Regions from separate parts of the Homo sapiens genome. Here regions 2, 3, 4, 5, 6 and 7 are each linked to region 1. The links are contacts of gene promoters, found by promoter capture Hi-C in blood cells and fetal thymus (Javierre and others, 2016). All regions are on one chromosome and are shown on one strand. Each heading gives the region's core, a stretch centred on a gene start or on the middle of the fragment in contact. The rest is flanking DNA. Distances are from core to core; before and after follow the strand shown. Region 1 holds the start of RNF146 (ring finger protein 146). Region 2 overlaps HDDC2 (HD domain containing 2). Region 3 overlaps HEY2 (hes related family bHLH transcription factor with YRPW motif 2). Region 4 holds the start of TRE-CTC1-7 (tRNA-Glu (anticodon CTC) 1-7). Region 5 holds the start of NCOA7-AS1 (NCOA7 antisense RNA 1). Region 6 overlaps NCOA7 (nuclear receptor coactivator 7). Region 7 has its middle 6.8 kb from the start of PTPRK.

Region 1 (3,569 bases), core at 430-2,929:
ACATCCAAAATCTATTTTTAGAGTGGTGTTCACTCTTCCGGTTTTCTCTTTAAAACGAGATTTAGTTGACCTATTTTCATGTGTTTTTAGGGCACCCAGACACTCTATACAAACAATATTTGCTAATCATAAAACAGCAAAGCCAAAATCACAAATCCTGTTATCTGTGTGGGACATTTTCTCCACGTGTCCTTACGTGCCATGTCTTTGAAAAGTCTAAATATAGATTCACTGACTAAAATGTCCTAAGTCTTCCAAATTCTATAATTATATACTGGATTGAATGCCAATATTATACGTTCACATCCCATTTGAAAAGTACACACACGAGGTGGGGGGGATGTGCCCACTACCTGAAATGCCAATCATACAAAGAACAAAGCGTACCCTATCATCTTTGGGCTTTCTTCTCTCCTCAGTTCTACACTGTTTCGATATTACAAAAATATTAAACAAAATGTTCAAAACTTGAGAAATAAGTGCTCACTAAAATGGCACTTAGAGAAAATAAATTAAAACATATACCAATATGATTAACGAGAAAAGATTCTAGTTGCCAGGATGTGTGTGTAAACTTACAGTCCTGTAGGTTTTACCTGTGGAGAGGACGGTTCCGTCTCCACTCTTAAAACAATTTTACATTCTTTAGAAGCCTTAGCAAAATAAATAGCGACAACAATGGAAGACCCACACTCCTTCAGACGGGATGGAGGGTAGGAAGAGAACTCCCCACCCAACAATCAGAACAAAGCAACAGCCTCAGCTTTTAAGATGCAGAGGGTTTGGAGGCTCAAGGGATATTCTGAGATCTCTTAATTGTTCCGATGCTTCAACAGCCGTCAAAAACAACTAAGAATATGCAGCGCTGGGCTTCACTAGGACAAGGTGCAGGGATTGCTCTCTTCGTTTTAGGCAAGACCGAGACACTGAGCAGGAGAAAAAAAAGGAGGAAGAGCGAGAGAAGAGAAAGCAGCAGCCAGAGACACTCCGGGAAAAGGCAAAAATGCAGACTGTACGCCCTGGCTTCGATCTGACCCAAGGCCCAAACTGTCTGACCCCACACGGGAAAACATGGAGCAGGCTACCGCCGAAAAACCATCGCCGCCCCTACACCTCGAGGCCAGAAGGTCCCCGGGTAAAGGCCTAAAACCACGGCCCAGAGGGGAGGAGAGGGACCCGCCTGCCACCCGAGGCAGCGAAGCGGGCTCAGGCGGAAGAGGCTGCGCAGTAATGGCCGCTGCTCCGCCCCTCGCACCCGGACCGAGACCAGCTCCGGCCGTCACCCAGGGCAGGGGCTGCGGCGCCCTCGGGCAGCGCAGGGGCTGTCACGGTCGTCTTGCCTGCCCCAGCAGCCAAGGCGGGGGTGGCGGAAAGGGCTGAACTGTCCCATCCCGCCTCTGCGCGGACAGCCGGGGCCGCGCCAGCCCAAGGGCGTCCATCTACGTACCGGCCCCTGACCCCGCCGCCGCCCCTCTCAGGCCCCGAGCGCAAGGCCGACCCGGAGTACGTTGCGGCTGGAGGTGACACCGCGAGCTATGCCTCCTCTCCCCGAGTGAGGATCCTAGAGTGGCCGGCGTTCACCCTGCTCCCCCGAGAGGGCCTCGCTCCGACTCCCACCTCTCCGGCCACAGCTGCGGCCACCTCGCAGTCTTTTCTCTCTGGCCTCGGAGCCCGCAGCTGCCGGGAACGCGCGCGGCCGTCACGTGACCACCCGGCGCGTCGCGGAGGAGGGGCCGCGACGCGCCGCGCACCCGCACCCGCACCGGCGAGCTAACTCCGGCGCCTCATCGTTCTGCCCCTGTCTCGCGCCGCTGTCTGCCGGTACTCTCTTGCCTGTGGGGAGCGGCGACTTCGCTGCTTGCATTCTTCTGGCTTCTTTAGAGTGTGCTTGCTTTGTATTAGGGCCCAGAGGCTCTGAAAGAGTGCAGTTCCAACAGAAAGAGATTTGGGGTGGAGGAAGTAAAACGTGTGTAGGACCAGCAGGTGGTGCTGCTCAAAAATCCAGCTTTGCTATCCTGAGGAAGCTCTGGGGCGCCTAGCTGAGTTTCGGCTTAAAGATCCCTTAGCAAAAGTACTGCTTGTTCCCTTTCAAGAAAAAAAATGGGGAGGGGGGGGACGGAGGGGAGAGAGTACTGTAGGACTTTCCAATTTGTTCTCCTTTTTAATGGTTGAGCAATTTAATCGGGGAAAAAATGAGTATTAGTTTTCTTTTGAAACCCCACCCTTTTTTTAAAAAAAACAGAATAGTGCCTGAGAAACTGAAGAAATTAATCTGCATGATAATCTAAAATTAAAGAGGTTATTTTGATCGCAAGCCTGTGGTTTTAAACATCAGAACTCTAGCAGTAATTCACCATTTTAGCATGTACATTTCCTTTTTCAGAACTGATTAAATTTTCCTAATTTGTAGGAAAATGAAGAGGGTGGAAGAGCAGACCTTTTATCTTTAGAAGAGTATGTATTTCAACATTCTATGACAGCGTCTTCTCATTTGCATTAGTGTTGCATTTTGGGATTTCATTAACTGTTTGATTCAGGATTGGAAGTTTTCAGTGTCCTTATAGGTATAGAAATGTATATGTTTTCTGTTATTCCTCTGAAATCAGTTTATTTCAGGGTTCTCATTCATATATATCAATATGTAACCCAATCTCTTGAAGGGTGCATCTAGTTCAGTGATGCTTGCGCGTGTATGCAATACTGTTCCATACATGTAGAAATATTGAAGTGTATATCCTTTAACTTTAAGCTTAGTTTTCTATCTTTATCTTCTTATTAGCCACTCAGTTTTGTCCCTCTATCCTACACAGCCCATGAACAGAGAATAGCTAAAATTTGATATGTACTCGAAGATTCCAGCTTGAAGAGGTAATGCTAATATTAACTAACAATGTGCCAGGTGTTGCTCTAAGTGCTTTATTCATATATACCCACTTAATTCTCATAATAAACTATGAGGTAGGCACTATTATTATTCCCATTTTACAGAGAGAGAGACACACACAGCTGAGATTTGAATCCAGGCACAGACTGTAAGATGTCAGCTAGTTCAACCCCTTCTCACTCATACCCAAGGTCTTTGTATTTCAGTAAATGGTTGCATCTTTCCTTGTTCAAACCCACCTTTAACTCCTCTCTTTTATGTCTTATATGCATTTGGCATATAACCTGTTGGCTCTTCCTTCAAAGTATATCCAACTACTTACCACCTCCGCTACAATCTGCATCATCTCTTGTTTGGATTATAGTGTTACGGTAGACCAGGAACTAGTCTTTTGACTCTATCCTTAATACAGAATCCTAAATAAATCTACTTAAAAAGAAGTGAGATCGTACCACTCCTTTGCTCAAAGTCTCCTGTGGCTTCCCAACACAAGTAAAAACCAAAGTCCTAACGATGGCTTTAAAATCCTCCCCTCATTACCTCTTTGACCCCACAGACTGTTTACCCAGCTTTGTATTCCCAGAAAGCTCTCCACAAGCTGCCAACCTCATAGTCTTTGCAGTTGTGGTTTCCTCTGCTTAGAACACTCTTCCCCATCATGCTCCCTCCATATGTGCTCAGATGT
Region 2 (3,569 bases), core at 641-3,140, 2.0 Mb after region 1:
CTGCTGCTGGTCAGGATTTGGGAAGAGAGAAGAAAATCAGGGAGGTGAACAATTCTTTATGCAGATGGTGTTTATGAACAAGATTTGGATGTCTGAACCATGCATTAAGATAATTAAATGAGGGTTTCTTGGCTCTGAGTGGAATTTGCCTAATGAGAACCAGGAAACCTCATTTGCCCTTGCTGGCTACATCAGTGAGCCTCTAAACTAAAGTAGGAGGGAGAAAAAATACAGTGGTCCCTCAGTATCTATGGGGTATTGGTTCCAGGACCCCCATAGATAACCAAATCTGCAGATGCTGAAGATAAAATGGTGTCGTATTTGTATATCACCTGCACATACCCTTCCATATACTTTGTCATCTCTGTATTACTTATGATACCTAATATAATGCAAATGCTATGTAAATAGTTGATAACACTGTATTGTTTTTTATTTGTATCTTTTTTTTTAATTTTTTTTTTTATCTATGGTTGGTTGAATCCGTTAATGCAAAACCCACAGATATGGAGGACCAACTATACTTGATAAACCTGGAAGGCTGATTGTTTTGGAGAAAAGTAGGTATTAAGATGAAAGGGAGAATGAGGGCATAGAAGAAACAAATTTAGAAAGGAGCCAAAAGCAATACTTGTAGTCTGGCCTCATTCCTAAACATATTAACATACACTTGATATTATGCAGGTTGATAATGCAGGTTGATAAATGATGTCTGATAAGGATCACTGTGATCTAGTGAGGTGGAACTTGAAGCTGGAATATAATGGTGGCAGGTCATATTCCTTTGCAAAGGGGAAACCTTATTGAAACAGAGGGCAGAGTCGTGGTATGCCTGTGTCTGGGAGGGTTAAAGTTGCTAAAGAACTTGGAGATTACAAAGAGAATGGAACTTTATCATAGAGTAAGTATGACAAGAAGGAGAAAATGAAAAACACAGCAAACATTTATAGAGTGCTTATTATGTGGCAGATTTATAAAGTGCTTATTATGTGCCAATAATAAGCACTTTATATGTGTATTAACTGTTTAATCCCTATGATCCCTTTAGGTAGGTACCAATATTTAACCCCACTGTGTAGATGAGAAACCTGAAGGACAAAGAGGTCAAATGACTTGCTCAGGGTTCCACAGCTAGTATTAATAAATGGCGAGCCGGGTTTGAAACCCAGTCTGGATCTGGTCTTCAGTTGACTACTACACTCTTCAGCCTCATCAGTGTCTGAATGATGAATAATACCTTCCAGTTACTTGTCACAAAACTGACACAAAATATTTGCTGAAAGCTTCATTCAGCTCGGCACTTTAGGCAGATTTTTGACATATTTTGCTAACAGAGGAAGAGGCTAGGGAAGCTGTCACTCTAAATCTATGACTGAACAACAAGGTGAAACTCAGTATAGAAGTGGAAGTGTCAGGGCTCATCGCTTGCCAGGAAGGGAAAGGCTGGCATACTCAGCTGTGTACCCTGGACCTCAGCCATGTTGATTTCAGAGGGTTCAATTAAAAAGGCATGATTCTGGCATGTGCTGCCAAACAAAGAATATTAACTCTCTACAAGGTTTCAAAAATGCTATTCTGATTGTGTGATTAACAAATATCAATCAGCCTAGATTCAGAAAATCATAGTTCAGTTTCAGGAAGAGAGCAACAACGTATTTGCTGTTTTGTTTTTTAAAGAATATGGTGATTTTGAACAAAAAGAAGCCTATTAATAACTTAGTAATTGGATGTGATCACCAAAAAGCCAATTCAGTCTTACACTGCACTTAAAGGAATATAGTATCTAGCATGAGGAAGGTGATGATTCCATTTTCTTCCACCTTGGTCAGATCATACATATATCACTGTATTCAGTTCTAGGTGTGTCATTTTAAAGAGAATAAAATAGTCTCCTGTCAGAGCAGGACTTTCATGTTTGCATTCTACAGTTGAGATGTTCATATACCTGTATGTACATATGATTTAGTTCATTCTTTTCAACTGGAAGTAATTGGCAAACTTGTGTTTCTGCAATAGTGTAGAGAAAAGGAATCTATAAAGACACAGTTAATTTGTGAAAATATAAAGTATTTTCTCAAGTATTCTTGCTGAAATTTATGAAAAAGAAACAAGGGAGAATGCATGTACAACATAAGCTAAATTCCTTCCTACTAAGGGTAGTGTGATGCTACCACTCTGTAACTGAACAAGCCATTCAAGATGGTGATGTTATTTATAAGAGTGGATTGTTGACATTGGCAAATGTGGTTTGCTCTGGAAGTGGTTGTATTCTGTAACATTTTTTTTCTCCCAGTAATAAATAAATATACACACAAATGTCCAATTTTATTTTCACTGCTTTCCTGCAACTCACTATTTTATTTTATGTAAGACCTTTATATTGCCAAAAATGGTTTTTATAGCCATATTCCGTTCAAAGAGCCTAACCTCTGTGGTTAGAAGAACTGAGGCTGATTAAAAGGTATGGGATGAAGGTGGTGAAGGAATTTGAAGCTTTTTGAGAGTACTGGAGTAATTCAGAAATAAAGGAAGGATACTGGAGTAACTCATAAATAAAGGAGAAGACTGGAGGATAAGGGTAGCTCCTGGGATCTTTGAGACCAGAAAGTACAGAAAGCCTAGAAGTACAGGACACCCTCTACTCTTATTTTGTCTCTGCTTTTCATTAGGTTTTGGCTAACTCTCAACGCTTCTCCTTGTGGTGGGGAATATGGCTTCTCTCCTAGCCTCTGCTTGACAAATGCAGATGGCCCCTGAATGCCTGGTTTGAATTATAAGATTATCTCTTAGACCAGTCACTGTGGCCACAGATAGTCCAGCCCAGCGGGGTCACTGTCCACCTGTTTGACGTTGTGTTTGTGGGTTAGAGAGGAAAGCAGGAGGGATGGGTTAGGTGTGGTAGAAGAACTACAGGGAAAATTTTCAGCTTGATATAAGAAAATAATTTCTGCCAGTACTGTCTAAGGCAGCCTCTTGAGGTACTAGGCTCCCTACCAATGCACACATTTTTGGAAAGAGGATAGAACTGTTCCATGATGCTATTGAAGGGTTCAGATACTACATGGATGGTTTAGCTAATTGCCGTTTAATATCCCTTTTCAGCCTGTGAGTCTGTGAGCCTACAAAATTCTATCATGTAACTTCGTTTATGTTAATGGCAATAATCGCTCATTTGTATTGTACTTTACATCTTGCAATAAAAACATGTTAACAATAGAAAATGAATATACAAAAAATCTCTTTGAGCTTTGTAATTCAGTATTCCTTTCCCATTCTCCCCACTCAGGTTTGTTTTGAACTCTCATATGCTTATGATTGAAATGTATGTGGGTATGTTGTGATTTATCCACAGATGTAAAATCCTTGAACACCTCTGATATTTCTGTAATTGTCTCATGACCTCCTCATTGTCCTTTTCTATGTCTGTTGTGTTGTAGACCACAAAAGAGGTGCTAAGCGAAGCCCATATGAATGATTACACTTATTTATTTAAGGTATACAACTGCCTGCCTTCCTCACAAGCTATAAATATTGTCCAGTATAGGCCAATTTACTCTGCTGCCCCTGTG
Region 3 (3,569 bases), core at 773-3,272, 1.5 Mb after region 1:
GCCATTTTAACTTTTAAAGACTAAAAGAAACTAGAATGACTTTTTTAAATCATAAGAATAATTATTCTCCTAAGATCACCACAGCAAAATGATTTCAGTTGTAAAAATCTCAAACTTTGCATTCAATCTGTGTCTTGGTTAATAATATGTTTTACTATGGGGCATCAATAGTCTTCTATAAAGCCAAAGTCTAGAGGAGTTGCATAACAACTCCAGAAGATAAGGAGATAGGATTTTAGCAATTGATTGTTAAATATTTTTAAAATAGAAAACTCCAATAAGTCCTTTCACAGGCCTACTAAGTCCTGAAATAAGGTATTCACACTAGAACCATATAATTGGATCTGCATTTCAAGCAGATCCAAAAATTTTAAAAAGGACGACTTTTAAGGTTTTTTTCCCCAATAATTACCAGCAGGTGTCACTGTGAATTTCTAAGCTCACAAACAAGAAGCAATAATTTACTGCTTACCTAGGAAGCATCATAAATGCTTAAGGATTTTTGAACCTTTTAAAATAGTTCTTAATAAAATTGTCTTGCAAATATATTTTTATGTCCCTGCTTTCAGAATAAGGAAACCTCTGGTAACCAATTGAAATACAAATGTGCCATTTCAAGCTGTCTCGGGGACTGTGGGTGGCTTCTCATTTCCTGGAAGAGCTAAATAATTACCAATATGTTCTCTTTTTTTTTCTTTTTTAAGGACACTAAGGTTTATTTCAGGTCCCTATGCTTTACTTGTTTTGTAAAAATTATCAGCACCACGTACGGTGAGAGTGCCAGAGTTACTTAACTGCTCTAAAGAACACTTTTCTAATCATATTGTGACAGGGCCAACTCACTTGGGTTGGTAGCCAAGCTCTGCAAATGGGAAAGCTTGTGTTTATGGTAACTAACTGCCAAACAACTGATGTTTGCTTTTAAGGTTTAAGTCAACATTTAAGAAAAAAAAAATCTAACAAACCAAGAAAAAAAATCAAACAGACTTCGCCTCATAACTGCAGACATTTCAGTACTTCCAAATTTTAAAAACATCATTGATTACTGACATTTTCACTTGAAGCCTATTTGGCACTGAAAATGCTACTAATCAAAACTACAATTTCCACATTATTTTTAGTTTATCAAACACAGTCTCTGCATATAGATTGGGTGTGCTTTTTGTCTTAAAAATGTATAATCAGTAGCATATTATGTTTTGTATTTGGTCAGCGTTTAATTTTTCCATGAAAATGGTACAAGCAGATTCAGTAAAGTCACTAATAATTGAAACTGCACTTTCTGGATAATTTCCAAGGACTTTGTAGGGCTTGTTTTATAATGTTTGCAGATTCATGAAGTAAACAAACAAAATGGAATAAACAAACAACTGTTGTCTTATTGGAATTAAACTGAAAGTATTTTCAACAAGGACATGCTGCCATATCCTTTGAAAGATACTCTTAGAAATCTGTGTCATTAACCACTGCGGCAGGGGGAGAGCCATGACTTCTAAAACCACAAAAGATTTAAACATTTGGCTTTCTACTTTTCTAAGTGTGCAAAATCTTTTTCTTTCTTTCTTTTTTTGTAAAGGAATAGGTAACTATGAAAAGGGGCATTTATGATTAACTTCATTTTTACCAAACTTCTAAAAAGATGACCCAAATCAAATGGCATTCTACCAACCCAGGGATTAAAAATGAAAGCAAATGGCTTGGTAAATAAATTTTAGTGGTATTATCATTTAGGAAATAGAGCTAGAGATGTTACTTCTTGGGCTCTGATTGTTTTTTAATTAAAAATATTACATTTTAAAAAAATTTTGAGAAAAAAATGGTTTTTTTTTTTTTTTTGAAGGATACGGTATACAGCACAGTTTTAAATAAAACCACTACTGGTATTCATAGAAAGAACAGAGAAAGCATGAACACTGTTACCCTTAAGGGGAAAATAAGCTAAAGAATGGAAATGTTTTTCAACTTCATGATGGATTATGTTTTTAATAGTTTTGCCACAACAAAGCATTTTATTGAAATAGCTGCTCTGTGCCAGATCAGGGCACATACACTATTATTTTAATGAGCTTTAACAAGAACCCACATTCCCAGATGAGCGAATCAGATTGTGTTTGAGCTTTTTTTTGGGGGGTGGCGGGGTGGGTGGGGGGATTCTGGGGAGGGGATAGCTTACTTGTTTTTCAAAAGCAGTTGGCACAAGTCTTCTCAACTCAGATAAACTGTTATTTATCCGATCCCGACGCCTTTTCTCTATAATCTATCCAAAAGAAGCAAACAACAAAAGTTTATGAATTCACAAATGATAAAATTACTCAAATGAAAAAATGTAACTGTTACACAATAGTATAAGTTACATGAAATAAAAAGGGGGAAAAATCACATACCCCTCTCCTTTTCTTTCTTGCCATAATCTGAGATGTTGTTGTTGGAGAATTCAATCTAATCACAGAGCTAGTACTTTGCCTATGAAATAAGAAGAGTATGTCAGGTGCTGCATTAACATAACAATAGTTTCTTCTGGGTACTTGTGGCACCCATTAAATATTCAGAGTGATTGCACAGTTCAAGTCTGTGTTATTTTATTCTTAGTTCTTGTTTCACTCTTAACGGACTTTGCTTTCAGCCCGGCTGTCTCTTTTCAGGTAAAAATTACGCCTTAATTTGTAATCCAGATGCTAACCCATTGGCCAAAATGTCCCACAATTTTTACTTGAAAGTCTCCCAGTGAAATAATTACCGGCAGTTGGGCTGAGAAGTTAGATATTAGCATTTCCTAGTTCCACTCATATATTTTAAAGTCAACTAATCTCAAATAGCTTTCCTTCTCCCTCCTGTCAGGCACACTGAACAAAATAATGCCACTTTTTCAAATCAGGGTTATGTTAAGCACCACTATCAAACAGATGTGCAGTCGTCATACGTCAAACTCTTGTCTCTAGGTGCAAACTTTAAAATAAATAGAAGTTATCTTACTGTTTCAAAACTTCAGTTAGTCATATATTGCAACAGGAAAAAATTGACAAACTTGATGTTTTGCATACTAATCTTCCAAAAATATGCCCTAAATATGCCACTGATAGGAAAATTAAAACTCATTTTATTACTAGGTGAATGTTTTACTTTGAAAATGAAACTGTAGGTGTGTCTCAGACTTTAGGCTAAGCTTAAATCTCCAGAAGCTGCAATGCACCTTGGATTTACTAATGAAAATATATTTTTATATTGAAGGTTCAATCAAAGTATTATTTGGTCACATAATTTTTACAATCCTTTCTAGTTTGTATCTGTTTCTCTTCATAATTCATGGATACTATGCTTCTTTGTGTTCTCAAATTCCCCAGGTTCCTGTTATTTGTTCTCTTTCATTTTAGAAATGCTGCACACACCAGGTTGCTATTACCTCACCTTCTCACTTCTGGATCTTATTTCTGAATTACCTGTCCCCCTCATTTTCACCCCTTCTTTACGGGTTTCACCTTTCACGTGATAGCTTCTGTTTTTCAGACCTCATTTTTAAAGACGGCACAACAACACTTTAATGATCAGATACTTAAACCTTTGCTTTCGTG
Region 4 (3,569 bases), core at 293-2,792, 1.5 Mb after region 1:
AGGGACCAGGACTCAGAACAAGAACAAAGTGGGTGTGGCTTAGACGCAATACTCTATCCCCTACTGGTTAGAGGAATTAAGTGCAGATTTTTAACACAACAAATATATTTAGGAAGAAGCGTTGTGCAAGTTCCCTGGTGGTCTAGTGGTTAGGATTCGGCGCTCTCACCGCCGCGGCCCGGGTTCGATTCCCGGTCAGGGAAGTCTTGTTTTTCTTGACATTCGTATCCTTCATGCAATTTAGAAGTCAAGAGTTTTGTGTAGTTTTCACTTGCTGGTTGGGTTTTTTTTTCATAGTTTTTTTTTTTCTTTATAGTTTTTTTTTTCTTTTTAAATCATAAGTTTTATGTACTTTTCATTCGCTTGTTGGGGTTTTTTAATCATTAAAAATTGACCGTTTTAAAAGTTTATTTAATCTAAGGCTTAAAATACGCCATCTCTATTTACAGGTAATGTAATTTATAATCAATCAAATAACATAAAGTTCTGTGATTCTAAAATTGTATTTTTCAGTTTTTAAAAATAATTTGGATGTGTTTACAAGCAGTCAGTTAAGCCTTTGTTTAACCTTGATTTTGTTTGACTAATAAAAGAGGAAGATAGTTTTATGAGGAATAATACTTATTCAGTATCATGCTTAGAGTTAATTTTTAGTTTTTCTGTACATTAAGATTATGTACTTTGGAGATTATTTGCCTATATTGGAGCTATTCCTACTCTCATCTCTATAAATATGAGATCTTTTCTGAGATGTATGGTTGGACATAGCTAGTTTATTGTGTTTTAATAACCCATTTAGTTAATGTTTTTTTGGCTAACTTTAAATTTTCTCTAAGAGATTTACACAAATATGGTAAATGTGTTACATCCAGAGTATCAATTCCCACTATATAAACCATATAGGCCCCTCAAAAATGCACCTACTTATCATTAGTAATTCCCACATTCAGGGTAAAGTAGAATTCTGGGAGTTCCTCAAAGGAAAATATGGCAATGTTGGAGTCAAAAAAAGAAAAATAGTGTTATATAGACATTAAGGGTTTTTTTGATCCTGAAAGTTCTAAACCATCCTAACCTTTGCCACTTACTGAGCTGTTGGATTTTTTTTTTTTTTTTTTTAATTTGAGACGGAGTCTCTCTCTGTCGCCCAGGCTGGAGTGCAGTGGCGCGATCTTGGCTCACTGCAAGCTCCGCCTCCCGGGTTCATGCCATTCTCATGCCTCAGCCTCCCGAGTAGCTGGGACTACAGGCGCCCGCCACCAGGCCCGGCTATTTTTTTTTTGTATTTTTTGTAGAGACGGGGCTTCACCGTGTTAGCCAGGATGATCTCGATCTCCTGACCTCGTGATCCTCCTGTCTTGGCCTCCCAAAGTGCTGGGATTACAGGCGTGAGCCACCGCGCCCGGCCCCGCCTTTTTTTTTTAAGGAGAAATTTCATCATAGCATAGAAACAGACTGAAAGCTTGATTGCAACTAAAATGAGTTTGTTTTGCTCTCCTTTTAGCTGTGCTGAGACTGATTGGGAAGAGGAGAATGCTGAGTACTTAATGTTCCAGGAAGTCCATTGTGATAGGTGCCATGGGGTTAAGAAAAGATGTGATTTTTGGTGCTTAAGAAGCTTTCACTTCATTGGATAATTAAGACAAAAATATGTTGCCACCATTAACAAAAATAATTGGCACCATTCATTGATTATTTGCTGCATATCAAGTACTTCAAATAATCACGATATATGGTAAAAGAAGGGAGAAGGAAGTGAGCACTAGAATCAAAATAGAGCTTGAAAACTGTTTTTCAAGCTGGACCTAAAGGCTAGAAGTATCCGGAATGCCTGAGAAAAGGAGAATGGACATTGCTTCTAAGGGATCCAGGATGACCATGGTCTAGTATTTGCAACGAAAAGGACTAACTGTGTCAGACTGGCTGTAGTAGGGAACCTGCGCTGGGGAACAGTGGAGATGAGGGCAGATAGGTGACTGCAGCTAGATTATGGAAGACCTTAAGACAAGTCAAGAAATTACGAAGGGAACCCAAGAGGACTCGATGTCTGATAGGATATAAAGGGTTAAGAATAGGGAGGAATCAGTTATGAATCCTTGATTTGTTCTGTGTGGCTAGTAAAACTGGGGTGGCATTAAAAGTAATAGGAAGGTTGAGATGGAGAAACTGATGAAGAAGAGAAGGTAAGTTCAGTTTGAGCCCCACAGAGGCAGCACAACTAAATGTGGTTGGAAATACAGAATGGGAATTTTGGTGATAATTAGGGTAGAAGGGAGAGATTTTGGAGCCATTAACTTAAAAGTTTGAGAAGATTTGAGCTCTTCCCAAAGAAAAAACCTATAAAAAGGAGAGAGGACCAAGGAAAAAACCCAGGAGAGTATACATTAAAGAAGAAGGGGAAGAGGTAGAAAATGGTGAAAGAGTAGTCAGAGAGGGGCCGGGCGCGGTGGCTCACGCCTGTAATCCCAGCACTTTGGGAGGCCGAAACGGGAGGATCATGAGGTCAGGAGATCGAGACCATCCTGGCTAACACGGTGAAACCCCGTCTCTACTAAAAAAAATACATAGCCCTTGTGGTGGTGGGCGCCTGTAGTCCCAGCTACTTGGGAGGCTGAGGCAGGATAATGGCGTGAACGTGGGAGGCGGAGCTTGCAGTGAGCCAAGAAGATCGCACCACTGACCTCCAGCCTGGGCGACAGAGAGACTCTGTCTCAAAAAAAAAAAAAAAAAAAAAAAAAAGGAAGAGTAGTCAGAGAGGTAGTAATAAAAGGATAAGAGAGCTTCAAGAAGGAAGTAGCGGTGAAGAAAAGAGCATACTGTAAAGAGATCAAGGAGAAAACGGAGGAGATTAAGCACAGTCAGATGGTAAGACAGTGACTGTTGGGTACAGAACAGACTGGTGGAGCCCATACCACAGTAAGGAAGTCTATCCAGGAGATCATTGCCAGAAACATGATTCAAGGTGTTGAGGGACTAATGTGAGAGACAACAACCTTATTTATGACCTACACGCTGCAGAAGGGCGAATATAGCGAAGAAAAAGAGATCTTATGAAAATAAGATCTGTTATTCCAGAGCCAGAGACTGTGAATTAACCCTGACTGTGCCAATATCAGCTGCATTATCTGGGTTAAGTGACCCAGCTCTCTGAGCCTCTGGATCCTAAGGAGTACAAGAGAGACACTAACTTGCATGCATCCGTGCATACTTCACAGAGTTATTGTCATTCATTCATCAATTTAGCAAACACTTATGTAATTCTTACTCCATGCCAGTCATCTTTGCATGCACAGGTATAGAAAAGTGAACAAGACTGTTTCTATGACAGTTGAATAGGAATCAAAGGAGAAAATCATTAAGGTTTTGATCATGGCCTATTAATTTAGAAAGGGTGCTGTTTGAGACGGGGGTGGGGGTGGGCAATAGAGGAAGCCATGTTGCATTTAGATTTGGACTGAAGAGAGGTCACCCAAGTGAAGCTGTCTTGTACATGGGTTGATATGTTTGACTAATGATGATAGATTTCAAGTAGATCCAGCTCTGCAGTGAGAACTGAAGCCTCAATAGTG
Region 5 (3,569 bases), core at 639-3,138, 1.4 Mb after region 1:
GGCTGAAAGTGGGAGGTCAAGATGAAAATTAGGTGAAGATGTAGGTAGACACAGAAGTAAGATCAGGAATGATTTGTTATTAAAGGAATGTGTGAGTACTCACTGTATCAGGTACTGTTCGTATATTACCCTCAATCTTCATAGCCATCTTGGTTTCATTTTACTTGAACACGAAAGCTACAAAGTGTACTATTCACACAACAGAGAAAGCTATACAGTGGGTTCAAATCTCCTCTGCCATGGAAAAGAGAATAAGGGGACCAGCTGTTCAGCTCTGGCCCTCCTTGCTGGGTCCCATTTGAGCTTCTCTCCAGTTCTGGCTGGTTGGGATGTCTCCTTCTTCAAAAGCATCTTGTTAGTTGGTTATTTTTAGCAACATTTAACAACTGAAGAAATGTAAGGTAAAGGAAGCTTAGAAGACTTGCCAGAGGTTATACACTGGAGTGAACTGCAAACACTAGGTGTTCTGCTTGTGGGTCAGAGGTTCAAGGGTGAAGAATTGCCAGGGCAGAGGCTGGAGATGGGAGCTAAGAAATGTTCTACACTTTGCATCCTTTGTCACTGAGAATGATGACAGAGGTGGTGCTGGCTCCTACTGCTGCTCTGAAAGGCTGGGTTAAGAGGAAAGCGGAGGTGGGAGCAGCAGTTCTGCTTTTCATGACAACCAGGGAATAGGGGAGGTGGGAGCCAACAAGGGACCTACATGAACACCCAGTCTGTGTCTTCGTCTATATTACTCACTGTTTACTCCCAGGCTCTCACACCTTATCAGAGGGGAAAAGTAAACCTCCCACAAAACACCATTTGGTTCAACTACAGATGTATTTTGGATATCTTCAATCAACGCTTGATCCTGAAAAAATGCTTTCAAAGAATCTTCAACCAATGGCATACAAGGACCTACTCGGAAATCACAAAAGCCAAATAATGTCAAGCAAGTGTGTAAGAAGACAGCCCTGTATGGCAATACTAAAGAAAATTTTGCATTCTAACTACAAGGGGAAGGAAGAGTCAGCAGGGGTGTAACAAATGACACATGATAGTCACCCCAGAGGATAGCATAAATTGTACACAGTACAAATAGTACAGAAAGTATAATTTGCTTTAGTAATTCAGTTTTTCATTTGGTTTTCAAGACCTGTCAGGGATCAAGAAATTAATATAGACATATACTAATTTTGCATATATAAATTATTTGCAAAACCATTTGTGAAAAAGTTTCACAAATCATTCAATCTAGATTTAACAACTGTTATAAAACTATCCTGAAGCACCTGAAAACCAGTTGGACCAGGGTCAGAAAATCCAAAAAATTCATCAGGTCTTATCCAGAATTACTCTATCTAGTAGCAGTATTAATCCACCCCTCTATTTAGAGTTACACAGGCATATTTCAAGATAAATTATAAGAAAGGAAAGACTGGGTGACCCTCAAATCACTAATTTCAATCCAAAATTATTAAAATAGGGTATTTTAAACTCTATTTTGATGTTAAAGAGCGAAACGTCAACAAAACAGGTTTGGCAAAGGACTATTTATCAAACACAGTCACACAACGATTATGAAACCACATGATAAGATAGCACACAAAGAAAACATTGGCTATTTAACTACTCAGGAGGAAAAACTAGGTGTTCCTAGTTTTTCCTAGGTGGAAGGGGGAAGCAGGCTAAAAAGCAGTTTTTAGGGTTTCAGATATGTAATTGTGGCAGCAGGCACAGCATCAGGGTAAATCTTCCTTTTGACTTCCTCAGAACACCAGTTGAGATTTATGTAAGGTGGTATAATTTAGTTTAGAGAAAACTGAGATTGCATCAGTTTGGCCTCACCCTTGGCCTGACATTTTATCCTTCTCTCCAGAGATCTTGCTTGGACTGCCCTTAAGTACGCTGCTCCAGAGAACTCTGCTCTACATTGTCAGAAACCAGCTTTCAAGTAAGTTCTGTTGCTAGTTCCACATGGTAATTCCACAGTTAAGTCAGAAGGCATTTGAAAAGATGTATAACTTTGGATGGCTCTTTTCTGATTATAGGCTGAAGGGGGTTCTTTTCTCTTTGGTTTGCCTTTTGCTTTTAATAGCTTGACCATTTCTGGCTTCCACTGCATTGTAAGAGCTAAACTACAGGTTTGTCAGTCAGTGTTTCTCTCTCTGTCTCTTTCTCTCTCTCCCTGCTCCTACCCCCTCTTCTCTCCATTCTCCTCTCTCCATCTCTCTCATTTCCTAGTTACAAATCATGTTGTCTTACTGTCTTAAGAGCATCACTGATTTCATCCTTGTGCCACTGTCCCTATGCTCCCAAGATCACATTTCAGCATTTTAGGATACGTTTTTTGTTTCATTTTTAGAATACTTTTCAGAAGAGGTCATGATAAGCAAGACAATTTTACATTTCTGAGTTGAAAAAACTGTGCTGCTCTTCCAGAACAGTTTTGGTTTGTATTCTCAGTTTCAGGGGCTCCCCTGACTCTACATTTTAGGAACAAGAAGAGGTTAACATTGAGCAGGTTGTTCATGAACCGGCAGTTACCTTTACTACAGGAATCACTTTGGATTCAGGCTGAGAAGGCACTATAGCTCTTAAAATCACTATGTAGGGCAAGTGAAGAAGAAAGAAAAGAAAGAAGAAGAAAGTAAGGAGGAGGAGGAAGGAGGAGGTGGGAGAAAGAAGGAAGGGGGAGAAGCGGGAAGGGGGAGGAGGAAGAAGAGGAGGAAGAGGAGCAGGAAGAGGAGCAGGAAGAAAGGGAGGAGGTGAGGAAGGGAGACGGGGAGGAAGGGGAGGAGAAGCATGACCACCATTTTGACCTAAACTCATATCTTATCCACAAATAAATTCAAAATGGATCACAGACTTAAATATAAAACATAATGCTATAAAATTTTCAGAAAAGAAAAACAGGAGAGAATCTTCAGAACATACAGCTAGGCAAAGAGATCTTAGAATTCAGACCAAAAGCACAATTCATAAAAGGAGAAACTGATAAATTGAACCACATCAAAATTAAAACCTTTTGCTCTGCAACTCTGTTAACTGGATGAAAAGACAAACTACAGTCCGGGAGAAAATATTTGCAAATCACATATCCAACAAAAGACTAGAATGTGTACAATTCAACAGTAAAAACCTAAACAATTCAATTAGAAAATGGGCAAAAGATAGGAAAGGAGATGCCACTAAAGAAGATACACTATGGCTAATAATAAGCACATGAAAATGTTAAACTTCACTAACCATTAAGGAAATACAAATTAAAACCATAATGAGATATCACTACATACTTATCAGAATAGCTAAGATAAAAATAAAAAATATTGACACCACCAAATGACAATGCAGACAAACTGGATTACTCAGACTTTGCTGATGGGAATGTCAAATGTTACAACCATTCCAGAAAAGAGTATTGCACTTTTTTATAAAACTAAAAATACACTTATCTTTTGACCCAGCAATTGCACTCTCAGACAATTATCTCAGGGAAATGAAAACTCATGCTCATACAAAAACTTGTACATAAATGATTGTAGCATCTAGCATCTTTGTTCATAAATAGCCCAAACTGGAAACAA
Region 6 (3,569 bases), core at 280-2,779, 1.4 Mb after region 1:
AAGCTGTCTTTCATGGGGGAGTTTTGCATCAATCCAGCCAGGTCTTCCCTTGTCCTGATCTAGGAAAGATTTAACTGAGAGTCGGACACCTTTAAAGATCTGAAAGAAGCATTTACCACCTATCCTCTCTGATGGCTGCCACCTATCAGGTTTCATCTGTATAACAAGACTACCTTCACAAGCCAGGCCTCCTCCTCTTCTTTCCTTCCCCATAATCTATCTTGCCACTGTAATCTTGATTTTTGGCCATGCCCTGAGCCCCATTCTTTCCGTGACCTCAAGATGGTATAGAAGCTTCTGCACCCCATTGTAGGCTTGGGTAAACACTTCATGGTCTCCCAAACACTTGGGTTCTCCTCATGAATGTTAAAAAAAAATTGTATGCTTCTCTCTTATTAATCTGCCTTTTATGAGTTCATTTTTCAGTGAAGCTTCAGAGGGTGAAGGGGAAGTTTTTCCTTAGCCCCTAGAGAGTTAAGGACTAGGAAGGGCTTTGTTATCAAAGGGACTGGCGTGTGCTCTACTCATTAAGAGGAAGAAATATGGGAAGGAGTCCCTTTTTAACACCGACCATGAAGTAGTTCTGCATCAGTCATACAACTAAGAGCAGCATGCAATTTACTGTCCCATTTTTCATGCCAATTTATATGTTCCCTGGTCTGGACTTTCCATTTTTAAATAGTATATCGTAATTTCTTTAATAAGTGCAATGATGAGAAAATATAATAGCATATGGATGATCTCAGCCTCCTTCCTCATGCTGCCTCCTAAGGGAACTCTGGGTTTGTTTCCTTTTCCTGGTTCTGAGCTTATGAACACAGGTGTGGGAAATGAATTAGGGGGAGAAGTGGAAAAAGAAATATAGTGAGAGAAGAAATAGAAGAAAATAAACCTAAAAGGAAAGAAGGGGAAAAGGTAAGGACATGAGGAGATACACTGACTGGATATGGGAAGGGTTTCAAAAAGGAGAAAGAGTTTGGGGAAGTAGCTGAGAGACATGTAAAAGGTCAGAGAGATGGAGAAAGAGGATTTTAAAGTTTTATCAAATATATGGCATTTATTACCCCCTTGGATGTTTTCTGAAAGGTGAAGTAAATATTTATTTTCAATTATTTTCTCTGATATACTTATTTCTTTGAATGTGACTTAATCCTGGGACTGGACCAAGGCATGGCTGGTTATACACAGGTGACACACGTGTACTTTTCTGAAGATGCCTTAAAGGTGGAGCATGTATGAATGAATGAATGAATGAATGAGAAACAAACTTCAATCCGGGAAAGATGAAGCAGGCTAATTATAAGTTATCTATGTCAAATTTCATAAATTGATATAAACCTTGAATCAGACCATGTTACATAGACTTTTAGGCTAATTTCTCAAGCAAAGTCGCTTTACACACATACAATGAGAGAAATCAAACTTCACTCAACATTTATCTAATTTAAAGAATAATGTAAGGTATTTTGTGAGGAGATAACTACCCCAAGACCTAACAATTCCCCACTGCTTGAACACTTTGCCCCAAATGGAGAGCTGGAATTTCCTATCATAAATGTTTCTTCATACTTAATATGTCACCTGGCACACACAGGTGCAACCAACTTCCTAATATGAAATTAACTAAGTTATCAAGCACCCTCTCCAGTAGCAGACTTTACCAAGAAAGTTTTGCTTTGATTTTACTACGTGTTCTTTTTTATTTTTTAGTAGTTGTTGATAAAAGGCAAGGTAATTTCTCATAGATGTGTACTTGTTTATGTGGTTTTAAATGTTCTGCTCCCAGGCATTCCTTTTAATTTCAATACAGTTTCTAAAACTCTCTTGAACATTTGTAATGTTGGAATAATAGTCATCCAAATTTCCTGTGGATTTCCATACTCCTGCATTAAGCCATAAGAAAACTCAGCTGGACTTTATTTTGGCTGAGTTAAAGGCGGTTTTGAAGAAAACCAAAATGGAATGATAACAATATTTTATCAGATGGGGGAAAATAAATATGTTTTTAACTATTACTGAGACTCTGCAGGGAGTATATCAGCTACAGTTCAAACAAAAGCCAAATCAGGGAAAATTTCATTGCTGTTTGTATGGATTAGACCAAAGAATCTTCAATCTTTAATCATCTACATCAAAGGGTCCCTTAAAAAGAGGGGCTCAATATTTTAACGCATGTATACATTACAACTTCACAATGGCATCAGCAAAAATGAAAATTCATATTTACCAACCATTATGTCCCTGGCATGACAACTATACATTTTTTAAAGTGCTCTTTATTCATAAATTAATTTTTCTATATTCAGATACTGTTTTAGTGGAGTTGTGGTATTAAACACTAAATTGAGTTTTCTGAATTCTACATAAAGCTGTCACAATATTAAAAATTCTAAAACAGTTTAAGATGAAAATATAATTACCTAAACTAATGAAAGAATTTGTACCTTTTCCATTTTGTTTCCAAGAAGCGTAAATCATAGAATCTCAAGTAGGAAAGTTCTTTAAAGGTTATCTTGTCAAATCATCCATTCAATGATGGAATTAACTATGATATTTACAGTGACATGTACAGTGTCTAAAAACTCACTGAGACTCAAAGCATGTCATTCTCCTTTTTAAAAGCTTTAAATCCAGTGCCTAGTACAGTGCCTGACATACTACAGAAAACTGCAGTAGATTTCAATGGCCTCCCTACAATCTATTCCTTATTCTGTAATACCAGATCTGGGTAGGACTCATCCTAGCTCCAGGAAGGACATCTTTATGTGGGCCTGTCCAATCAAAGCACTGAGTCTCTGCCTCTGCCAGTGGCAGCCACTACTCCAAAACCTAGCACCGGCTCTAAGTTGGTCCAATCCCTGTGAGTCTCAGGACTTGTGAGACCTAATAGCAAGCATTTGCTTTGCCTGCTGTTGCATAATAGAGATTCTGACTTAGCAGCATTTATCAAGTAAAGCCTGAAAAAGGAAGCTAAAAGAAAGGAAGGATTTAGATACAGACAAACTGAGTCATAATGACATTATTTGAGTCCCAAATCCAGGCATTCCTGATGTCAAATCTTATCTGGGACTTTTTACTTATGTGAACCAGAAACTCCATATTCCTTTTTTTTTTTCTCCTAAGGTAGTCTGATCTGTTTTCTGTTACTTGACCTAGAAAGGGGAAAGAGCTTCCTGACTATTACAGGAATTTGCGTAAGTAAGGTTGCTCCATGCCAACAACACAAAAATGTGGATTGGCTGAGCTGGGTTTGGATGATACTTGGAAACTTAGCAGTCTTTATCACATGAAAATAACATGGATAGCTGTTGTATCTTAAGATTAGATTGTGTGCCTATCAAGGCTGCATTATTGGGGAACTCAGGAAATTTTAAAGATTCTGGAATAAGTGTTCTACCTCTTTTAGCCTGAGAAAAGAAAAGAACTTTTATCTGGGAAATATACATCCTTTTAAATTATCAGGCTGCAGAGACACTAAAATGAGACTGCAATCACATCTTACTTCCCGCTGGAGCTATGTATTCATCTCCAGAACCAGCCTGCTATTGCCACAAGCAGCTATAAATTAA
Region 7 (3,569 bases), core at 735-3,234, 1.3 Mb before region 1:
AATATCTCTAGGTGTAAATGAATGATGTTAACGGCTGTTTGTTATGCATAAATGAAAATATTTCATGTTCAGACAGCAGGAAGAATACAAAAAGAAGGAAACTAGTAAGTTTGCATTCTTCATCAGTATTAGAGCCATAAACAAGAAAAATACTAGAAATAGAATAAAGGAAAACATGGACTTCAGCATCTTGAATCAGAGTGATACTTTTAAACTATTCAAATGGCCATAGAAATTAAGATTTTCTTTCTCTGTTCAATCATTCTTAAGCCTTCTTTCAAGGGATTTCTTCCTTCATTTTCTTAAAATTCAACATCTTCTCCTGCCAGACTTTTCCAAAGCTGCTTGGCTTTAGAAAGTCTGCTCATGCATTCATTTCTCAACTACAGTTAATTGAATAACTATATGACCACTGTATTATGGGCAGGGATATAATGACAAACAATACAGAATCCTCAACTTCCACGACATTAGAATGACAGCCCAGCAACCAATGAAACAAAAGTTTAATTCTTAAGGAGGCAATGATCCTCAGCATTAATGACCAACAGACTCATTATGACCTACACATGCAAACATGTACATGGGATGACATAGGCTGTGGTCCTTGTAGAACATAGAGGAAATACAGTCTCAGCTTTCTAATAGCTTACAATCTATAGAAGACATCATAATGAGAGTTATGACAAGAAATATGCCAAATGTAAATGATGACTAATCATCCAGGTAACTATTGACAAAGGTTATCTCCTAGTTTATGTCTTCCTCTGATGAAGTAATGTAATATCAAACTAATATAAGATTGCTGGCATTCATAGCAAAGGAACTGTAATGGAATGTTAAGAATTGTATTCACTGTGAATACAGAGAAGATTGAAAATATATTCAATATCTTTTTTATAAATTTGCTATCACAGTTTACCTTTATGGAGTAATACAATATATTCTTGCCATTCTAAATTAGTGTTTTTTAAAACAGTGTATTTTTTAAGCGTACACACTCTGGAGTCAGAGTGCCTGGATCTGTAGTTTAGCTCCACCATTTACTTAAGCAAACTGCTTAACCTATTTGAGCAACAGTTTTCACATCCGTAAAGTGGCTATAATATTTTAAGGATTAAATGAGGTGATCCATGCATATTAGCTTTGGATTGCTATTTTGACAAATTACTGCAAATTTAGTAGCTTAAAACTACACAGATTTGTTGTCTTTCAGTTCTGGAGGTCAGAAGTCAGAAATGGATTTTGCTAGACTACAGTCAAGGAGTCAGCAGGGCTGTGTTCCATCTGGAGGCTGTAGGGGAGAATCCATTCTCTTGACTTATCCACCTTCTGGAAAACACTTGTATTCCCTGGCTTATGGCCCCCTTCTCCATTTTTCAAATAAGCAGTGTAGCATTTCCTCTCTTCTATCCTTACATCTTCTCTCTCTAACTCCAGCTCTATTGCCTCCCTCTTGTAAGGACTCTTGTGGATTACACTAAACCCATGCAAACAGTCCAGGATAATATTGCCATTGCGAGATCCTTAACTTGATAACATCTGCAAAGTTTCTTTGGCCTGTGAGGTGACATATTCACAGCTTCCAGGGATTACATCATGCATATCTTTTTGAGAGTGGAGGTGGGGAATGTTGTTATTATTCTGCCTACCACCCCTGTAAAGTATTTTTAAATATTAGCTAATATTATTTATTATGTACATTCACATTGTTCACCAAGCTTCTCTAGGATGTATCTGAAACAGTTAAGTGGCTATTTTACATCATGTGGAAACTGAAATAAAACTATGTTTGATCAATTCAGCCTCTGATTCTTTTCTCAGACTGTTTTAACTTGTTGTTCTTTGACTTTCTGCTCAGATCAGTGGACCATTAGTTTATATCAGCTGTAGTTGTCAACAAGTAAAAAAGTTAATTGACTATTTCATTATGGCCCCAAAGAAATTGCATGTGATTTTAATACTCCACTGTGCTCGTGCAGCTATTTCTTAATGAACTCTTCTCTGGGCTTATTTAGACAGTTGCGAAGATTTAAATGCTTATAAACTGATGTTATGAGAAATCTGTTGTGTACTTTATGCATCTTCCAACAAGGCTTCTTAGATGATTTAAAAAATTTATCAATAAAAATGAGAATTCATCCCCAGGATGGACAAGTGTTCAGTCAATGAGAGGCACACTTTGGTCAGATACTAACAGCCAGCTACTTCCCAGAAAGCGTGTTCAAGGAAGAAGTTCAAGCTTCACAAAGTGGTTTACGCCTCAGGCCTTTTTTTTTTTTTTCTGCCTGCAACAACTATCACTTTCTTTCAGATCTAGCTCAAAACTAGCCATATCCCAAAGTTTCTTCCTTCAGCTGTGCTTCACCATGACTTAATACTTCGCTTTATACTCCTTCGCATTTAGGGTACATGTATTTGCACACATGCATATACATACATACATATACATACATATATATACATACATATATATACATATTTATTTATTCATCTTCCTCTTCCCTCAAGTGGTTTGTTGTCTCTTATTTTTTTATGTTTTATTTTTTTGCCTGTTAAACTCAGATGTAAACTACTAATTCTCCTGTATCCCCCACAGAGTAACTAGCACTGTGTTGTGCCCTTAATAAATGCTTGCAAATGACAAAATGAATTCTGGGCTTTGGTTAAAGATGACTTCAGCATGGAAATGAGCCCCTATGTTTGTGTGTAGGTTTTAATGGTTCATTTTCTTGTCAGACTTCCCCTGGTTATGAATGCTGTGGCGGCATCAGCAGTATAAAGGGAGGATTTTATTGGAGAACATTTGGAGGATTAGAAAAATCTCCAAAGCTTTGGAAGCACCGCATCCTGTGTTCAGACTTCTATTTCTTTCTGTCTCAAGACCACAATAAGCACAGAAGAAAGATGGCAAGATCCACAGGGTTCCATATGTGAAGCCAGTCCCCCAGCCCCCCTCAGAAGTAGGTGGGAGGAGGAAAGGAGCATAATCATTAGAGAATTTATTATTCAGCTGTGTTAATTCTCATCAGGCTGCAACTTTGCATACGAGCTCTTAACCCCACAAGATATAGTTATTATTTAATGCATGATGTATTTAGTTTTAAGTTATCCTCTTTCCTGGTTTTTACTAAAATAACAAACAACAAAAAAATCCCCATGATAATTCATGCATTCAGACCAAAAGAATTCAAACAGGATTCAATGGGAGGCTGTATAGCCGGTACCTTTATACCTCTTTATAGTGAGCCGTGAAAAACATAATACATTTTGGTGGGCATAGAAAATACTCACTAGCATAAAGGGAGAATAAGGCACCATTTATTGTCCCAGAAAAAATAATTTGTCAAACACATACTGGGTTACTGTGAAGACCAGGCATTTTTTCCCCCAGAGTTTATTCTTCTATTAACATCATTAGACGAGGCTTTTTGAAAATGGGGAGCGGCTCACCAGTGGGAACCTACCAGCTCTGGAAGTGACTGTTACTGTCCCATCCCTCCACCTCAATCCAATTCACACTTTTATGATTGGCTTCCTTTTTGACCCATGCTTGTTAATTATATCCA

Evidence for each region. Contacts are between HindIII fragments. The CHiCAGO score rates a contact against its expected background, and 5 or more counts as called.
Region 2: a contact is called between a fragment that was not itself captured here and the fragment with the promoter of RNF146 in region 1, in 1 of 17 cell types (non-activated CD4 T cells). The highest score is 6.2, in non-activated CD4 T cells.
Region 3: a contact is called between a fragment that was not itself captured here and the fragment with the promoter of RNF146 in region 1, in 3 of 17 cell types (total B cells, non-activated CD4 T cells and total CD8 T cells). The highest score is 7.7, in total B cells.
Region 4: a contact is called between a fragment that was not itself captured here and the fragment with the promoter of RNF146 in region 1, in 7 of 17 cell types (total B cells, total CD4 T cells, total CD8 T cells and 4 more). The highest score is 10.4, in total B cells.
Region 5: a contact is called between the fragment with the promoter of NCOA7-AS1 here and the fragment with the promoter of RNF146 in region 1, in 3 of 17 cell types (M2 macrophages, monocytes and naive B cells). The highest score is 7.0, in M2 macrophages.
Region 6: a fragment that was not itself captured here is called in contact with the fragment with the promoter of RNF146 in region 1 in 1 of 17 cell types (monocytes); the score reaches 5.4 in monocytes.
Region 7: a contact is called between a fragment that was not itself captured here and the fragment with the promoter of RNF146 in region 1, in 1 of 17 cell types (fetal thymus). The highest score is 5.3, in fetal thymus.

Annotation. Positions count from the first base shown.
Region 1 is chr6:127,264,974-127,268,542 of GRCh38, reverse strand. RNF146 (ring finger protein 146) reads right to left here and starts at 1,679. Exons shown (of 3, transcript NM_001242850.2): 1 at 1,618-1,679. RefSeq lists an enhancer at 991-1,050 and silencers at 1,251-1,520, 1,621-1,720. The HindIII fragment of the contact is 5,432 bases long and covers 1-2,751 here.
Region 2 is chr6:125,293,010-125,296,578 of GRCh38, reverse strand. All of the region lies in intron 3 of HDDC2 (HD domain containing 2), which reads left to right. Among named protein-coding and RNA genes, the nearest start is that of HDDC2, 7.2 kb to the left of the region's middle. The HindIII fragment of the contact is 1,210 bases long and covers 1,286-2,495 here.
Region 3 is chr6:125,750,695-125,754,263 of GRCh38, reverse strand. It overlaps HEY2 (hes related family bHLH transcription factor with YRPW motif 2), which reads right to left. Exons shown (of 5, transcript NM_012259.3): 2 at 2,385-2,463; 3 at 2,174-2,257. Among named protein-coding and RNA genes, the nearest start is that of HEY2, 2.8 kb to the right of the region's middle. The HindIII fragment of the contact is 2,286 bases long and covers 880-3,165 here.
Region 4 is chr6:125,776,881-125,780,449 of GRCh38, reverse strand. TRE-CTC1-7 (tRNA-Glu (anticodon CTC) 1-7) reads left to right here and starts at 132; the gene lies at 132-203. RefSeq lists an enhancer at 1-57 and a silencer at 12-281. The HindIII fragment of the contact is 156 bases long and covers 1,465-1,620 here.
Region 5 is chr6:125,817,177-125,820,745 of GRCh38, reverse strand. NCOA7-AS1 (NCOA7 antisense RNA 1) reads left to right here and starts at 1,888. Exons shown (of 3, transcript NR_126386.1): 1 at 1,888-1,936. All of the region lies in intron 2 of NCOA7 (nuclear receptor coactivator 7), which reads right to left. RefSeq lists an enhancer at 2,162-2,663. The HindIII fragment of the contact is 4,548 bases long and covers 414-3,569 here.
Region 6 is chr6:125,834,933-125,838,501 of GRCh38, reverse strand. All of the region lies in intron 2 of NCOA7 (nuclear receptor coactivator 7), which reads right to left. Among named protein-coding and RNA genes, the nearest start is that of NCOA7-AS1, 18 kb to the right of the region's middle. The HindIII fragment of the contact is 2,191 bases long and covers 434-2,624 here.
Region 7 is chr6:128,525,569-128,529,137 of GRCh38, reverse strand. No RefSeq gene overlaps it. Among named protein-coding and RNA genes, the nearest start is that of PTPRK, 6.8 kb to the right of the region's middle. The HindIII fragment of the contact is 521 bases long and covers 1,724-2,244 here.